Regions from separate parts of the Homo sapiens genome. Here region 1 is linked to region 2. Evidence: promoter capture Hi-C in 16 types of primary human blood cells and fetal thymus (Javierre and others, 2016). All regions are on one chromosome and are shown on one strand. The core of a region is centred on a gene start or on the middle of the fragment in contact, and the rest is flanking DNA. Distances in the headings are between cores, read along the strand shown.

Region 1 (7,317 bases), core at 3,299-5,798, 3.6 Mb before region 2:
TGACTTAGAATGCCTGTCTGGGAATGCAGCCCAGTAGGTTTCAGCCTCATTTTAACGAGCTTCTACTTAAGATGGAGTTGCCCTGGTTCAAACGCCTCTGACGAAATGACCCCTAAAGATCTGTGACCAGAAGATCCACTCTCCTATCCTGACCTTTTTTACTTCTCAGCTGTAAAGGTTAGAAAGGACTATATGTAGTCCTTTCCAAGGTCACCTTACCTGTTGGACTTGGGAGTTGATGTCAGTCACCTTGAAACTGTACTCAATAATAATCCTCAGAGGAGTTATCAGCCTCTGAACCTCCTGGACCAGGTCAGACTCAAAAGCATTTTTGCAAATATTATTTATATTCCATTCCCTCTAGTTTGGAGGAAGAATTAGGGATAGAGCTTGAGCTTTAAATCAAATCCAGGACCTGTCACTCAACGGCCTTGTAGTCTCAAGCATATTTCTTCAAGTAGCTGAGCCTTGGTTTCCTCATGTACAAAACAAAGACAAGGCTGCGACCCTCACAATATCATGGTGAGGATTATATAAGAGAATACGTGAGAGAATACTTTTACCAAGGTTGCCAGACATGACTACATTACCCATCCACCCACACTCCCTCCAAAGGAAAACTCCCTCAGTAGTCCCTGCTAATGCTATTTAGCCTGTCTAATTTCCATTCCTGTGATCCGAGATCCCGTCTCCCACTCATCCACAGTGACTAAACCAAGGTGGTCACCTGAGCCAAAAGCAGGCAATCCATGGACCAATCAGCTATCATGATGGCTTGGCCTGGGTCAACATTCAAACAAACAAATGAGCAAGCTGAGCCAATCAAATTCTTCTCTTTGGAATTTATTACAAATTTAGAAAAAGGAGAGGCTGAGATAGTTAATAACAAAGAAAAAAGTAAAAGGAAGCTAATGGCTGCTTTAGTGCAATGGCAAGCTAAAGTCATGGGAAGGCATAATTTATGAGCAGGCAGGAAATCCGTAGAGTGGAAATTGAGAAAGACAGCTATAGAAAGAGGCAGACAAAGCAGACATGCAGAGAAAGAGAAAGATCTTGAGAGAAGGACACAGCTTCGTCTTAGTTCCTGAGCCTTCTGTTCTGATTCTATGTCTCTAAGGGGATTCTTAGAATAGCCTCATTTTTATTGAGATAACTTGGGTTGAACAAAAGAGGTCTGATCAGGCATTCAATAAATTTTAGTTCCCTTGCCTTATTTACTTATTTAGTTAATTATTTGTCTCATCACTTATTCAGGCACCTATTCTTTAATTTATTTACTAAGTTAAATAACTCCTGACCACCTACTCTGTGTCAGGTATATTCTATCTGCCATATTTGTACTGAGGGCTTAACTTGTATCCTTCCCAAATAACATGTTTGGAATTATCTGGGCATTAGGGAAGGGGACAAGACGCATGCAGAAGTGATCCTAATGGTGAGAAAGATGTTTAGAGAATTAGTGGAAGACTTATCAAATTGTCTGTGGCGGTGGGGGGGTCCACCCCTCTAATTCTGAGCAGCATCAGCCCTGCTAGCTCCAGCATCAGCCCCAAAGCCAACAGTAAACTGCCAGGCTTAGGTTTAAACTTACATCTTCTTGTATTTCTCTCAACATGCCTCAAGCGGGATTTGGGGAGGAACCTTCACAACCTCTCCCTCTGATCCTGCCCTTCATGACTCGAGAAAGTGTGTTTCTTTTCCCCCTGCTCATTCCTAAGGCTTTCTCATATACCATCATCTGTCACAAGGATGTTGACAGCCCAGCATAAGCCAGCTTTAATTCTATGGGATATTTTCTTCTGTCAGTTTTAAAAAAAAAAAGAAAGAAAAAAGAAGGGGGAAAAAAAAAAACAGTCTGCCCAGGCTCTCCTTGAAAAAGGGTAAAGAACCAGAGGCAGAAAGAGACCATGCCAGAGATCCGCGGGGCCATCGGCTGGTCTGAAGAGGTCGGTAAGTTCAGATTCACGTTAGTGTCCAAATGTTAAACAAACAGATGGCTTGTCACATGGATGTTTACTAGCCTCACAGCTCTGCACTGGCCACGCTTTGAAAGGACTGCTGCTGCGAGCAGAGTATATGTCAGGCTTTTACCCTGCAGTCACCTGGAGTCAGCCCACCTAGGTCACGGACTCCAAGTTGCTTCTTCAAATATGGGAGTGGGAGCCCGTGGCCTCTGTTCAGTATTTCCAAACCTAACAGACACTGCCTGTTTATCCACAATAAAACTGCACAAGCTGCCAAAACATCCAACTTCTTTGCTTTGGGCTGGAATGATATTAACCCAGGCTAGCTGTGTTTGTCATTTCTCAGTTTCCAGAAACCAAAATTGACACTTAGGGGTCTCTTTGATGAATACCAAATAAACAATAAATTAACTGCTTTTTTTAAAAAAAGGTAATTTGTTGGATCATAAAAAACCTTTCAAGTACGGTGGGGGAACGATGAAATGGAAGCCTGGTGAGGAGAAAGATGGCAATATTCTTCCCTGATGTTATAGAGCATCTCAGCATTTCCTCCATCCAGATTGTAAAAGGTTCCTCCACTAGAAAAACCAGAACCTTCCTTTAGGAGAAGAATAAGGCTAATGGTCCATATTATTACCCTCCAACATGCTTTAAAAGGTCAAATCGTGGTTCCATCAAAGCTGGGCTGGCTCCCAGTTACACCGCTGAAAGGATGAAATTTTGCCTTTTCCAAAAGAAGGAGGATGCAGAAGGCAATGCTGTCAGTAGAGAAATTAATTCCTGGCAGGCCAGTGTTAAATTCCCTACTGGAATCCCTGGCTCGCGTTTGTTTAATGCATCTTGTGGATGGAGCCACGAGAAGCACAACAGCTCGGAATTTGCAGCTAGTTCTGAGGCAGAAGGCGCCTTCTCGCCACAAGATGGCAGCAGGAGCCTGCGTTTGAAGCCAGGGCTCCGCGGTCCTGCAGCAGTATTTCCCCCACCGCCCAGGAGGATCTGATTCCCCGAATTTTAACCAATTGTGTTACAGCTTTTGTCTCCAAAAGGACAGAAATAGGTTTTCTCTTTCCCTCTAATTGATTTTAAGTTTCCTTTTGTTCAAGCTCTGCTAAAAAGAAGAGAGCCCTATTTTTCAAGACGTCTATTAAGTGGGCCAAATAATTATACCCCAAAGATAAACCTTTTCTCTGAAAACCACGCTCAATATTTGCTCTAGAAGCAATGCTTGTGCTCTGTCAACCCGCTGACACGCCTTAGGGAAGCAGTCGACCCCCTGGGGATGCTTTGGCTTTCTCCTCCAAACCCAGTTGTTGGCTGATTGAACAAGAATCATCTGCTGGGACGCGTCCTCTGGGGACTGGTGGGCGCGTCTAAAAAGGTGATAAATTTGCCCTTTGGTTTCCAGGCCTCGTTACTGGATTCTCCATCACCCTTTTGCAGAGAATAACATCACCTAATAAGGACAAACAGCCTCCAATGTGTACTCAGTCATTTGTCCAATGAATAAACAATGTTACCGATTTACTAGTCTTCCTTCCATACTGACTTTCTGTTGCACAGCAGCCCCAGAAACAATGGTGAATTCTTGGCCTTTGTGTACGCGGATACCCCTCTGCCTGAACACTTTACCCCAGGCTCTTCACTTGGGTAAGACCACTACCTCCTCAGTCCTCAATCTAAATGTCACCTCCTTTGGATAGACTTGTCAAGGCCAGTTCTAATGAGAGTCCCCTCACAAAGCTCACATCACATCCTACGCTTCCATCATTACAGTTCTTCCAACACTATATAATAACTACTAGTTGATGGATCATCTCTCCCCAAAGAATGTAAGCTCCTCAAAGGCAGTGTCTCCATCTGACTTAGTTTACCTTATAGCCTGTAGCTTAAAGTTGCCTCCTCAACACTTATTGAATAAAATAATTGCAGAACTAAAAAACATACTGAAATTTTTGAACTTACCTTTTCATATAATGTAACTATGAATTCTACCTACTGTTTTTTGAGGTATCTCATTTACGTGGATTTCAGTACGCCATTTTCAACCCAGGGTGGTGGTGGGGCAAGGCAGGTGGAGAGAATTATAAATGGAAAATGTTGAGAATTGCACAAATCTCTGAGTAGCTCACAGGCACATGTCACAATATTATCCGTATTATATTTTTCTATGGGGGAAAAGTGTCTGGTGTCAGACCTTATGGGATCAAGTTAAAATACCCCTGTTTTATAGTCAAGTTATTCTGAAATCTGACCCTATCTTTATCAATCACCTTTATCACCTGTGTGGTATCTCCCCAACCAGGAGTATCTCTCATTTTTCCAAATACATGCCAGGCTTCTCTCACTTTTGTGATTATTCTGACTGCCTGACATACGATGACTTCCCTGGTGTCTCTCTATTCACGCACTTCCCACTCATCCTCACAAACCCACTCAAGTTCTCTTTCTGCCGGAAGCTTCTCCTGACCAACGAAGCCCATGCTGATTTCCTGTCTCTGAAAGTCCACAGTTTGGAGGGTCTGGATCCAATGTCCTTGGTTTCTGTAATTCAAATCACAACTTGATAAGCTCTAGCATGCTAGAATCCCAAAAAACAGGCTCCATGCTAACTGGGAGTGAAAACTCTACATTTTTGCTTTTTCTCTAATTATATACTGTCTGGAAACTTATTCTCCCCAACCAAAAAAATATAAGCTGCTCAAAGAAAGCTTTATGTTATATATCTTTGATATCCTGCAGGGTTTCTGATATGATCCTAAGCATAAACCCTCCATAAAGGTTGATTCACATAAGTAACCCTGTAAATTGACAGATGAATAGTACTACATTAGCCTGGGCGCGGTGGCTCACGCCTGTAATCCCAGCACTTTGGGAAGCCAAGGCCAGCGGATCACCTGAGGTCAGGAGTTCGAGACCGGCCTGCCCAACATGGTGAAAACCCGTCTCTACTAAAAATACAAAAATTAGCCGGTTGTGGTGGCACATGCCTGTAATCCCAGCTACTCGGGAGGCTGAGGCAGGAGAATCGCTTGAACCCGGGAGGCGGAGGTTGCAGTGATCCAAGATCATGCCACTGCACTCCAGCCTGACCCTGGGTGAAAAGAGCGAAACTCCTTCTAAAAAAAAAAAAAAGCACTAAATTCATAGCCCCCAAATCTAGTATTATTTAGCCTATTCCAAGTCTCAGCAGGCTGTTTCCCAGAGGATGACTCCCAAAGCAGGACTTTAAATGTAAGGAATAAAACAGCACCGGCTTCCTTGGGTCCAGACCAGATAGTACCTGAGGATACATTTCCCAAACCCCGCCCCGCCTCACATACACAGATACATGAAAGTCTGCAAAATCCAGTCTGATTTAGGCATTATCCAAATAACCCTGCCTGTTACCAAGATAGTCACTTAATTATGGTCCATTTCCTGAGCATTCAACCAGACGAAAATGTAAAGTGCCATGACTGCTTCTGCAGAGCTCACAAATTAAAAACCTTGAGGTTTTCTGCAGTTTCCGAAGCAAAGCCAGAAAAGCTGAAAGATGACTGATATGGTTAACACATTTATTGGCATTAGGACATTGTTATTTTATTGCTGATATCAGGGTGACATCATTTTTCATAAAGACATCATAATGTCTTTGAATGTCATAAAAGGTGAAATTCATTCTCATGAAAATTAAAGAGAATATTGCAATGCTTCAGTCAAAAGGGGACTAAATGATACAGAAGATAAAATGTACTGGCTTTAAATTTCTGTCCATAAACCAGGAGTGAAACTAAAGATAATTAGGATAGAGATGAAGACTGTAATAACCTGGAATTAGTTTAGGCATCCCTCTAATCTCATTTATTCATGGCGTAGAACTATTCATTGGGAAATCTGTTTTCCTTCATTGGCCAATATTTTAGCTGTCTACTGCCCAAATGAAAACACCGAATGGCGGGATGAAGAGGCTGTAACTGAAATGTATCTTATTGAAGACGGCAGAAGCAACTCACTTCTCACTAAAACACACAAGACCTAGGACCTAAAGCAATCAATGTGTCAAGTCCTTTGCTCAAAATGTTTAGACTCTCATTCCCTCAACCATCAGAATTTTTTTTATTTTTTTATTTTTTTTTTGAGACAGAGTTTACCTCTTGTTGCCCAGGGTGGAGTGCAATGGCCTGATCTCAGCTCACTGCCTCCTACGCCTCCTGGATCAAGCAATTGTCCTGCCTCAGCCTCCCGAGTAGCTGAAATTACAGGTGCCCACCACCACGCCCAGCTAATTTTTTGTATTTTTAGTAGAGACGGGGGTTTCACTCTGTTAAGCAGCCTGGTCTCGAACTCCTGACCTCAGGCTATCCACCCGCCTTGGCCTCCCATAGTGCTGGGATTACAGGCGTGAGCCACCGTGCCCAGCCCGCCATCAGAAATTTTTCAGGGCAAATTCTAGAATCTGTCACATACAAATTCCTTTTTCAACCTGCCAAGGTGATGAAACTCGGAAAGTGTTTAGGAATTCCTTTCTGCTATATGTCCAAATTCCATTTCTTCCTCTTCTCCACCCCTCCCTCAATCTGAGCCCCACTAAAAATTCCTTCTGCTGCCAAGTGCCTTAGAAAACCTTTACATTATTTATTTTTTCTGTGGATTCATTGTGTGTTGGAAGCCTCAGAAGAAGCTGAGTGCATAGTTTCAGGGCAATAAAACAGTCAGAGCAAATGGCAAACTGTTTGGTTTGGCACCGCGGAATCCAGCATGCATCTGTGCATTCCTCCCTGTGTGGCTGGAAACCTCTCAAATCTGGTCCTCAGTTTATCTCCCTTGGGTGACTGGTTCTTTGGTTACTCTATGGGAGAAAGCCCCTAACAGAAATGCAACATCATGGGCCAGTGATTCCCCATTTTCACGTGCATATATGTCTCTTGGGGGTCTTGCTAAATGTAGATTCGAATTCAGGAGATCTATGTATAGGGGTTAAAACTCGGCATTGCTAAGAAGCTTCTAGATGATGCTATGAAGCTGGTTCATGGATTACACTTTGAAATGAAAGGCATTAGTTAGCTCATCTTCAATACTAGATTGAGCTTCCTGCAATTGTCAGTGCTTACGCTTGCCTTCATTAAAACAAATTTGAAATTAGTCCAATTCACAATGCTTGCAAAAATGAATTCATTTCATTACCATTTTGATCCTGTATTTACTTGGAGGCAAAATAGGTATTAATTAATCCGGGGAATGAGGTGGGTGAACAAGGAAAAATTCTTTCATCTTTTTACTTAAGCATTTTTCATTCTCACTTTCCAACTATATATTTTGCTTCCTTGTTAAAGTAGCTAATGCCATTTTCCTCTTGCAGTTTATTAAAAAGTGC
Region 2 (7,282 bases), core at 171-2,670:
ATTCTAACGCCTTCCTCTGCTGAGCGGGCAGCTCCAACGCGAGCCAAGGGACAAAGCTGGCCAGGGTAATGCTGTGGTGCACGGGACCAAACCCATTATTTGTGCACAGTGCAGGGAGCTGCAAACTCAAGTTGGGCAGTCCTCTAGACTAAGCCTTGTTGATAGACGCTCACGCCCATGATAGCCTGAGGCAGTTAAATGGAGCCACACGCAACAGCAATATCCTGTTTCAGAACTAGCGCTGTGGCACTCCCCACTGCTGAGAGGGGACCAGATTCCCGAAAAGGTCAGATCACCAATCAGTTGCCTAATCTAAGGAACTTGTTCATTGAAAGATTTGGGCCAGGACCGTGGTCGAAAAAAATCAAGGAGCACGACATACTGGTCCCGGGGACACAGCTCCCCTGACACCAAGGGATGGCAAAAACAGGGTCCCTTATACATGCGAAGGAAGAACGGGCGGCTCGGAGACGGCCAGTAGATGGCGCAAGAACTCTTCCCTTGTGCAATCTTAACCCTTGCGTGGTGCATGGGGGAAGCAGATCCAGATGTATAGATACATACATTTTTCGTTTTGAAAGAAACCTCCTATTTACATATTTGGTACCGATTCAGAATTAAGACAAATGGGTTTGTTCTAGATAACTACCACAGATAAAGTAGTTTAACTGCGGCACACACAAACTGAAAAGGGGGTTGGGAGGATGAAAGGGAGAACTATTTGAGGAAACGACATTGACTTCCCTCCCCACCCCACCCCCGCCCAGGCCACGGATGAAATCCGTTTCCCGAATCATAAAAACCCGGTGAAGGGTTTACACGTAGTTATTTGAGTATGTAAATACATGTGTTCAAATACATTCTTTTCCGTGTGAAGGCAGAATTTATTGAGAAAATTCTCTGTGATTTCCTTTTTCAATTAAATCACAGGATAATAAATGGGAGAAGCCTGCCTGAAATATACTGCAACTACAGTAGTAACACATGTCCCATTATAACGACGTGGGCATCGATGGAGCCCGATTCATTATCGTCACGGTTTCCCCAAAAGCAACACAGATCCTCCGATTAAAATATTCCTTTGACATGCTTCTGTATTCGCAGCCTGCAACGGAGAGCTCACTAACATTATTTCTTGGGCTGCTTTTACAGGCAGAATTGATCTATTCGGGGAAAAAAAGCAAGCCCCTTAATTTCAAATATTGTGTGGAGTTTATCAGAGAGCAGAGGTGGGCTTTAAGAGGCTCACTAGTGGTTTCTGGTGGTTGCTATAACGAGCCAGAATTGGGGTAGATTTTGGTGGAGGGGAAAAAACGCACAAGAAAAGACAGAATCCAGAGTAGCGGAGACTTTGTGCCCCCGTTGGAGAGATGGTTGAGTCCTCGTCAAGGTTGCTGTGGTATCCCAGAAACACCATTCACTCCGAGCTGTGACCGCGCACCAACAACAGCAACAACTCCACTGCGCCGGGCTGAGGAGCAGGAATTAGGAGCTCGCGAATAATATGAAAGGGATCCGCAAAGGGGAAAGCCGAGCAAAGGAATCCAAACCCTGGGAGCCTGGCAAGCGAAGATGCGCTAAATGTGGCCGCCTAGACTTCATCCTGATGAAGAAAATGGGGATTAAAAGTGGATTTACGTTTTGGAACCTCGTCTTTTTATTGACGGTGTCTTGTGTGAAAGGTAGGTCTGCTTTGGGGGTCCCCTCCGCTTTGGATGGAGGTGGGCTGACTTGTAGATGGAGAGAGGCTGGCAGCTTACTTTGCAATTTGCACCGATAAAATAATCTGATAATACTAAAGGAGTTGATTCACAGCTCGTTCTCCCCCCCTCAGATAGGAAATGCATTTTGCTTGCCAGATTTGGCGTTCAATGCGGTGATTGAGCTTGTGCTCAATAAATATTCTTGCAGTATGCTCAAACGAATACGTGAGTTGGTTAGTATAGCCTCTAACTAGTGGATATCCAGGCAGAATTCCTCTGCAAGACTTTTCTTAGTGGTGAGGATTACCTTGATTTCTTGTCAGATCACTAGGGCTTGAGGCTTTGGGTGGAATATATATATTAAAGACGCTGGTCTAAATGCTTTTTAACCCTTTCAGGGAAGAAAGTTATCGACGTGCTAGGAATGTGTTGATTTTAAATGCATTAGGGCACAGGGATCTTCCAAGCACTGCCACATCAACATGAATGTCTGCATGCATATGTATGTAAATTGGGCTTCTATGCAATGTTAAATGTAGGGGAGCTTCCCTAGGACCTGTGGTAGAGGTTTGGCAAAAAATGAGGCTTTCGAAGGGTCTGAAATGCCATGAAGTGTAAAGAACCACCTTAAGGGATGAATGAGGTAGGAGGAAAGTCATTAGCTGACGACCAAAAGAAAATCCCCAGCAAGTCTCAGCGTTCAGACAGGTAGAGTGAGTGTCACATGCACAGATAGGGGAGGGGGTAGGTGGGATGTAAAAATGTATTCCCAAGCAGGAAGGCAAGGGACAGTCAGGATCATGGGAAAAAGAGCTGTCCTTAGGGAGAAAATAGATCCATAGCTCTCTTCCACAACTTCTCCGGCACCCTGCTGCCCATTAATTGCTGCAAAGAATACTCAGGAGGTGTTTATGACTCATGCCATCATTTTTTGAACAATCACCTCTCCATACTCATGGCAGCTCGAATAGACGCTATGGATGCCGCTTTCAGTGAAGCTAGTTTCAAATCCCGGGTGTCTGTGTGTCGCGGGGGGGCGGGGGATCGCGGGAAAGGGGGTGCTGTTTTGGCCCAGGCGCGCCAGGGCTGTCAACACAAACTGGACGCTTCTTCCTTTGTAAAGGAGTGCCTCTCTGAACTGCAATCGGGCCGCGTCTCTATGAAACAGTTTATTGTCCAGCTTGCAGCTGGCTGTCCCCCCACGGAAGGCAGCTCATTTGCATTCAGTGGAAATGATAATTCATGTTTTGGGAGGAGGGAGCTGGAGAGGTTACCTTTCCCTCTACTATAACCAATGATGGGTGGCATGTCTAGAATTTTAATTTACATCCCAAAATGCCAGGAAGTCAGTCGCCCCGGTCTCTGTGGCAGCAACTGCCTTGTAATCCCAACCTGCTCCTTGAAGCTTGATTTTTCTTTTCTCTCTGGGGCCTCAGAGCAGCTCTGAGCCGAAAAGCTTGTCCTAAGTGGCACAACTACACTGCCAAATGTACAAAGCACGGCTCAGGTTGCTTACAAGGTTTCTTTGTCGCTGGCTCGACGGGTGAGGAGCCACACATTTATGCTTAGTTCGCCTGCCACTGGGAGTTGGTGGTTAATGGATGGCCCTGGGGCTGCCTGCTAGACGCGCGCTTCGCGTGGGGGAGGCGCGAATAGCCAGCAGCAGCCCTGGCAGAAAAATGTAAGGGTGGCTCCTGTGAGAAGATGACCAGGGTTTAAGTGCGAGTTTTCATGTGATACCTGTTGAGCCAAAACACATTCGGGGGCAGATGAGGGGGAGGGAAGTCTCCGAAGCGGGGCGAGCATTACAGCCTGACTAACGCTGATCCGCGCCGCCTGCAATTAGAGCCCCGGCTGCCCGCACCTACCGTATTTTCCGAATGAGATGCGCCGATAGAAAGGAAAGGCGCGTTAATTTACTTTGGACTGATATAATCGGTTTAGCTTTGGAGATATTGAGAAGGAAGAGTATGTCATAGCCTTCTTTGATCCTGTGCAAAATCAATATTCTACAGACTATACGTAAAAAACATTTTTTTTCAATGTCAATAAAGTTATTGTCACTCATCGGGCACTTGGAAGGCATCTCCTACATTTTACGACTTGGAATACTGTCCCCAAATTCTGAGAAATTTGCATAGGTTTTATGTTTTAGACCTGCTGTCAATCTCCGAATGATGCCAATTTTGATAGTTGCTTTTTACTCTCCCTTTCCTCATTTTATTTTAATTTCACCTGTCTCAAGGCTTTCCTAAAGCCAAGATTGATGCAATGCCTTAAACATTGTTTGCCCCAATGTCTATGCTCGCTTTTGTCTTCTACACTTTCTTCTGGAATGTGAGGTCCATGAAAAACCTCAGACTGGGGAGCCGTTGTAAGGATTTTGCAGGTTCTAATCTAGACTAGCGTGAGGGTCCAGGAAGTCCGAGGCAGGCAGTTTTCCACGTGAACAGCTCTAGCCACGAGAATTACACCATCTGCCTACAGTTTTCATCCCTCCACCATCTCACCTTTGCGTTCAACAGCAATGACAAAGAGGCTTAGTGGGAGGAAACGCCTCGGAGTGTAAGATAAAGTGGTCTTAGGTAGGCCTGAACCACTCGGGTGGGGCTGAAAAGGAAAACAACCTTTCCTTGGCATTTCATTTCCACTGTCATGTGAAATAAAAGGCTGTGGAGAGCACCAAACTGAGGCGTGGGACAGGGCAGGTGCTGCCTAGACTTGATCCATGCCTATTTCAAACTGAACTCCCCTCCCCCGCACCCCCCACACAGGTACACACGCACACACACACACAGGCAGAGGTTTCTGAAATGCCTCCAGCTGCAGCGTGTCTGTTTAGGTCTCACCCAGATAGAAACTGTGAATCTCCAAGTCGTGCTTAAGCGTCCCGCCCATGTAAAGAGACATCCATGGGATGTTTTCCCACGCTGCTTGTCAGTGGATCCCAGGGGAACACACACCGTGCAGCGAAGGTACCGCGAAGGCACAGATCTCTGGGTAGGCAGCAGGTGGGAGACCGGGTGCGGCGTCGCGCACCCCACGCCAGAGCGTCTTTCCAGGGATTCTCGCCAGAGCGACTTCGCGAAGGATCCACGTTTCTGCGTGCTCTGAGACTCCAAGGAGATACTACTCCTGCCACAGAGGTCTTTTGGAAAAGTGGAAATCGCATCCTCTCCCGCAGTTAGTTGCTACTGGAGAGGGGCGCGGGTGTCTTATGAGGGGGAAGAGCTGCCAGAGGCACTCATTAGCACCTTTTACAGACGCCCGCCCAGGTGGCCATGTCCGGAGCTTTCAGCCCCGCGTGTGTCCCGGGGACTGACACCCACAGTCCTCGCCCATAAGGCGACAGTCTTTCCCAACACATCAGGAAAATATCTGTCTCAGCTTGAGAGAGCTTTACAAAGGGGGCTGAGGGAAGGGAAATCAATGTCTTTTCAAAATAATAACAGCAAACAAAAACCCACCTAGACAAAACCATTATCAAAACCCTTCCCCCAACACTAGCAAGACTGAGAAACCCACTGAAAGGTAACCTTTGTATTTGAGTCAGGGCCCCCTCCTGCTGTAGTTTGGACAGGCGCCCCTCCCTTACATCTATTTCCTGTGGGAATACTCATTAATTTCTTCAAGAAGATCAGCCTCCCTGAATTTTCATGGACAACCCGAAGTTGAAACTGGGTGGCTGACTTGGCTGTTGATGTGCGTGTGTGCGTGTGTGCTGCTGGGAGGAGGACACATGAATTGACACGGAGAAACCTTTAGGAGTCTCCGAGGGTGGGTGTGAGTGTGTCCTAGGCGGAAACGCCTGGCGGGTAACAGCGCTTTAATGTTCCCAGGACTCCAGATGGCCAGTGGCGCTGCGACCACTGCTGTCACGATGAAGTAGAAGTGCGGAGGAAGCTCCCTTTCTCCAGGCGGACCGCAGCGCTGTCCTCACTCAAATAACTTATCTAAGACGCACTCGGGGAGTTCGGAAAGCACATTGGGGAAACAACGAGTGGGGATTGTGGCTCCTCTGCAACGTCCCCGTCCCCCAGATCCGTTCAACGACGACGGAAAGGCCAGCAGGAGGGCAGCCCCCGGCTCAAGTGCTGCAAGGGCTTAGTTAGACTCTGAGGGAGAGAGCAGAAGAAATTAAACAGCATAGTGCCATCTGAGTAGCCAAAGTGGTCTTCTCCCAGCCCCGCTGGAGTGACCAGCTAAGGGGCTGACACAGGGGCACGCACAGGGATTGCTGCGCATTGCAGAATAATAATGAAGGAGGACAACCAAAGGAAGAAAGATCGGCTCAGGCATGAGGCTGGTTCTCTTCTCCCTGAATGCGGTCTTGTCTTTGGGGAGGCTTTGCACCACCGAGTTGCTAAGTTAACCCAATTTACCGGACTGACAGGGCTTGAACGGTTACCAGAATTCGGAGCTGAACTTCACTGGACAGTTAGCTTGTTGAAAGCGCTCTGAAATGTCCTTTTGCAGCACCGTACTTTCCGGAATCATCTGGTTGGGGAGGAGGCGGGTGCTGCATCACGCCCTCATTGGAAGAGTATGTGAGCAGAAATAATTAAGGAGAAGGTTTCGGCATCTTGAAAACCTGATGCCAGCTCCCTTGAGATCCTTCAAGGAGAAAAAGAGTAGAATTACTCAATAAATTAAGTACTCCAGGAGCAAAGGCTTCGTTCCAGTAGTTATTACCCTTCATGATATTAATTAGCATTTCTATTTGTAGGGTAGCTGAATTAATTTGGAGTATACGCGTCTTTTCCCTAAACACAAAATTTGGTGTCTACAAAACAGTGAAATAACAAATAGACACCAAATGTCATCTGTGCATGATTCTAAGTACAGTAAAACTCTATCATAAGTGAAAGCTGATAAACAAAAAAAGTAGGAGAGGTGTGCAGTTAATAATGCCTTTGTACTCATGTGCGGAAAAAAAAAAACTCTGACCTTAAAACGCTTTTCTAAGATCTCAAATGCAAAAAAGTGGAGGGAACTAAAGTTTACTTCCTTAGCCTCCAAATATACTTCTTCATGTGTTCCAAAGGGTGTTTCTCTTCTACTTACTTATCAGGGGCTTCCGAAATGGCTTAAGGATATAAAATACCTTCAATATTTTGTCTATTTTAAAGCACCAAGCATACGCCTGGTAAGGCACCAGTACCTTTAGGCAACATGACCTTTTGAGAAAATACGCCATCTTGTACTTTGAATTCCAAGATTTGGGAAATTAGAAATAAAATGGTTGTAAATGACAGATTAAGAAAAAATGTGTAAGATACAAGTAAAATCTAAGAACACTTTAGTTTATTTACATGTACATTAAAACATAGCTTTAGCTATTTTTCCCTATCTCTTTCTTCTGTTCCCTTTACTCATCATCCAAAGGAGTATATAATTTAGAATACAGTGGAAATATTGATTTGGACTTTGGATGAGTATGAGAATGGTGCCATTACAGACACTGCGGTTGCCAAATTCATCTTTCTGCTCTCAGAGTGAGCAGGTGGGTGATTCACGGTATTTCCAGGTATACCTACCTCCATGCCTGCAAGGTTTTCTCAGAATTGGGCCCCTTGTGA

What was found. The method cuts DNA at HindIII sites, captures the fragments that hold promoters and counts their contacts. A CHiCAGO score of 5 or more calls a contact.
Region 1: a contact is called between a fragment that was not itself captured here and the fragment with the promoter of CSMD3 in region 2, in 1 of 17 cell types (M2 macrophages). The highest score is 5.4, in M2 macrophages.

What each region holds. Positions count from the first base shown.
Region 1 is chr8:117,040,453-117,047,769 of GRCh38, reverse strand. It overlaps a transcript of SLC30A8 not described here. Among named protein-coding and RNA genes, the nearest start is that of SLC30A8, 91 kb to the left of the region's middle. The HindIII fragment of the contact is 252 bases long and covers 4,423-4,674 here.
Region 2 is chr8:113,431,077-113,438,358 of GRCh38, reverse strand. It overlaps CSMD3 (CUB and Sushi multiple domains 3), which reads left to right and starts at 1,420. Exons shown (of 71, transcript NM_198123.2): 1 at 1,420-1,682. The coding sequence starts at 1,505. LOC105375709 (a long non-coding RNA gene) reads right to left here and starts at 6,172. Exons shown (of 2, transcript XR_928544.3): 1 at 5,933-6,172; 2 at 5,229-5,818. RefSeq lists enhancers at 1-486, 499-548, 2,326-2,836, 4,766-5,269, 5,270-5,773 and 1 more. The HindIII fragment of the contact is 6,354 bases long and covers 1-3,110 here.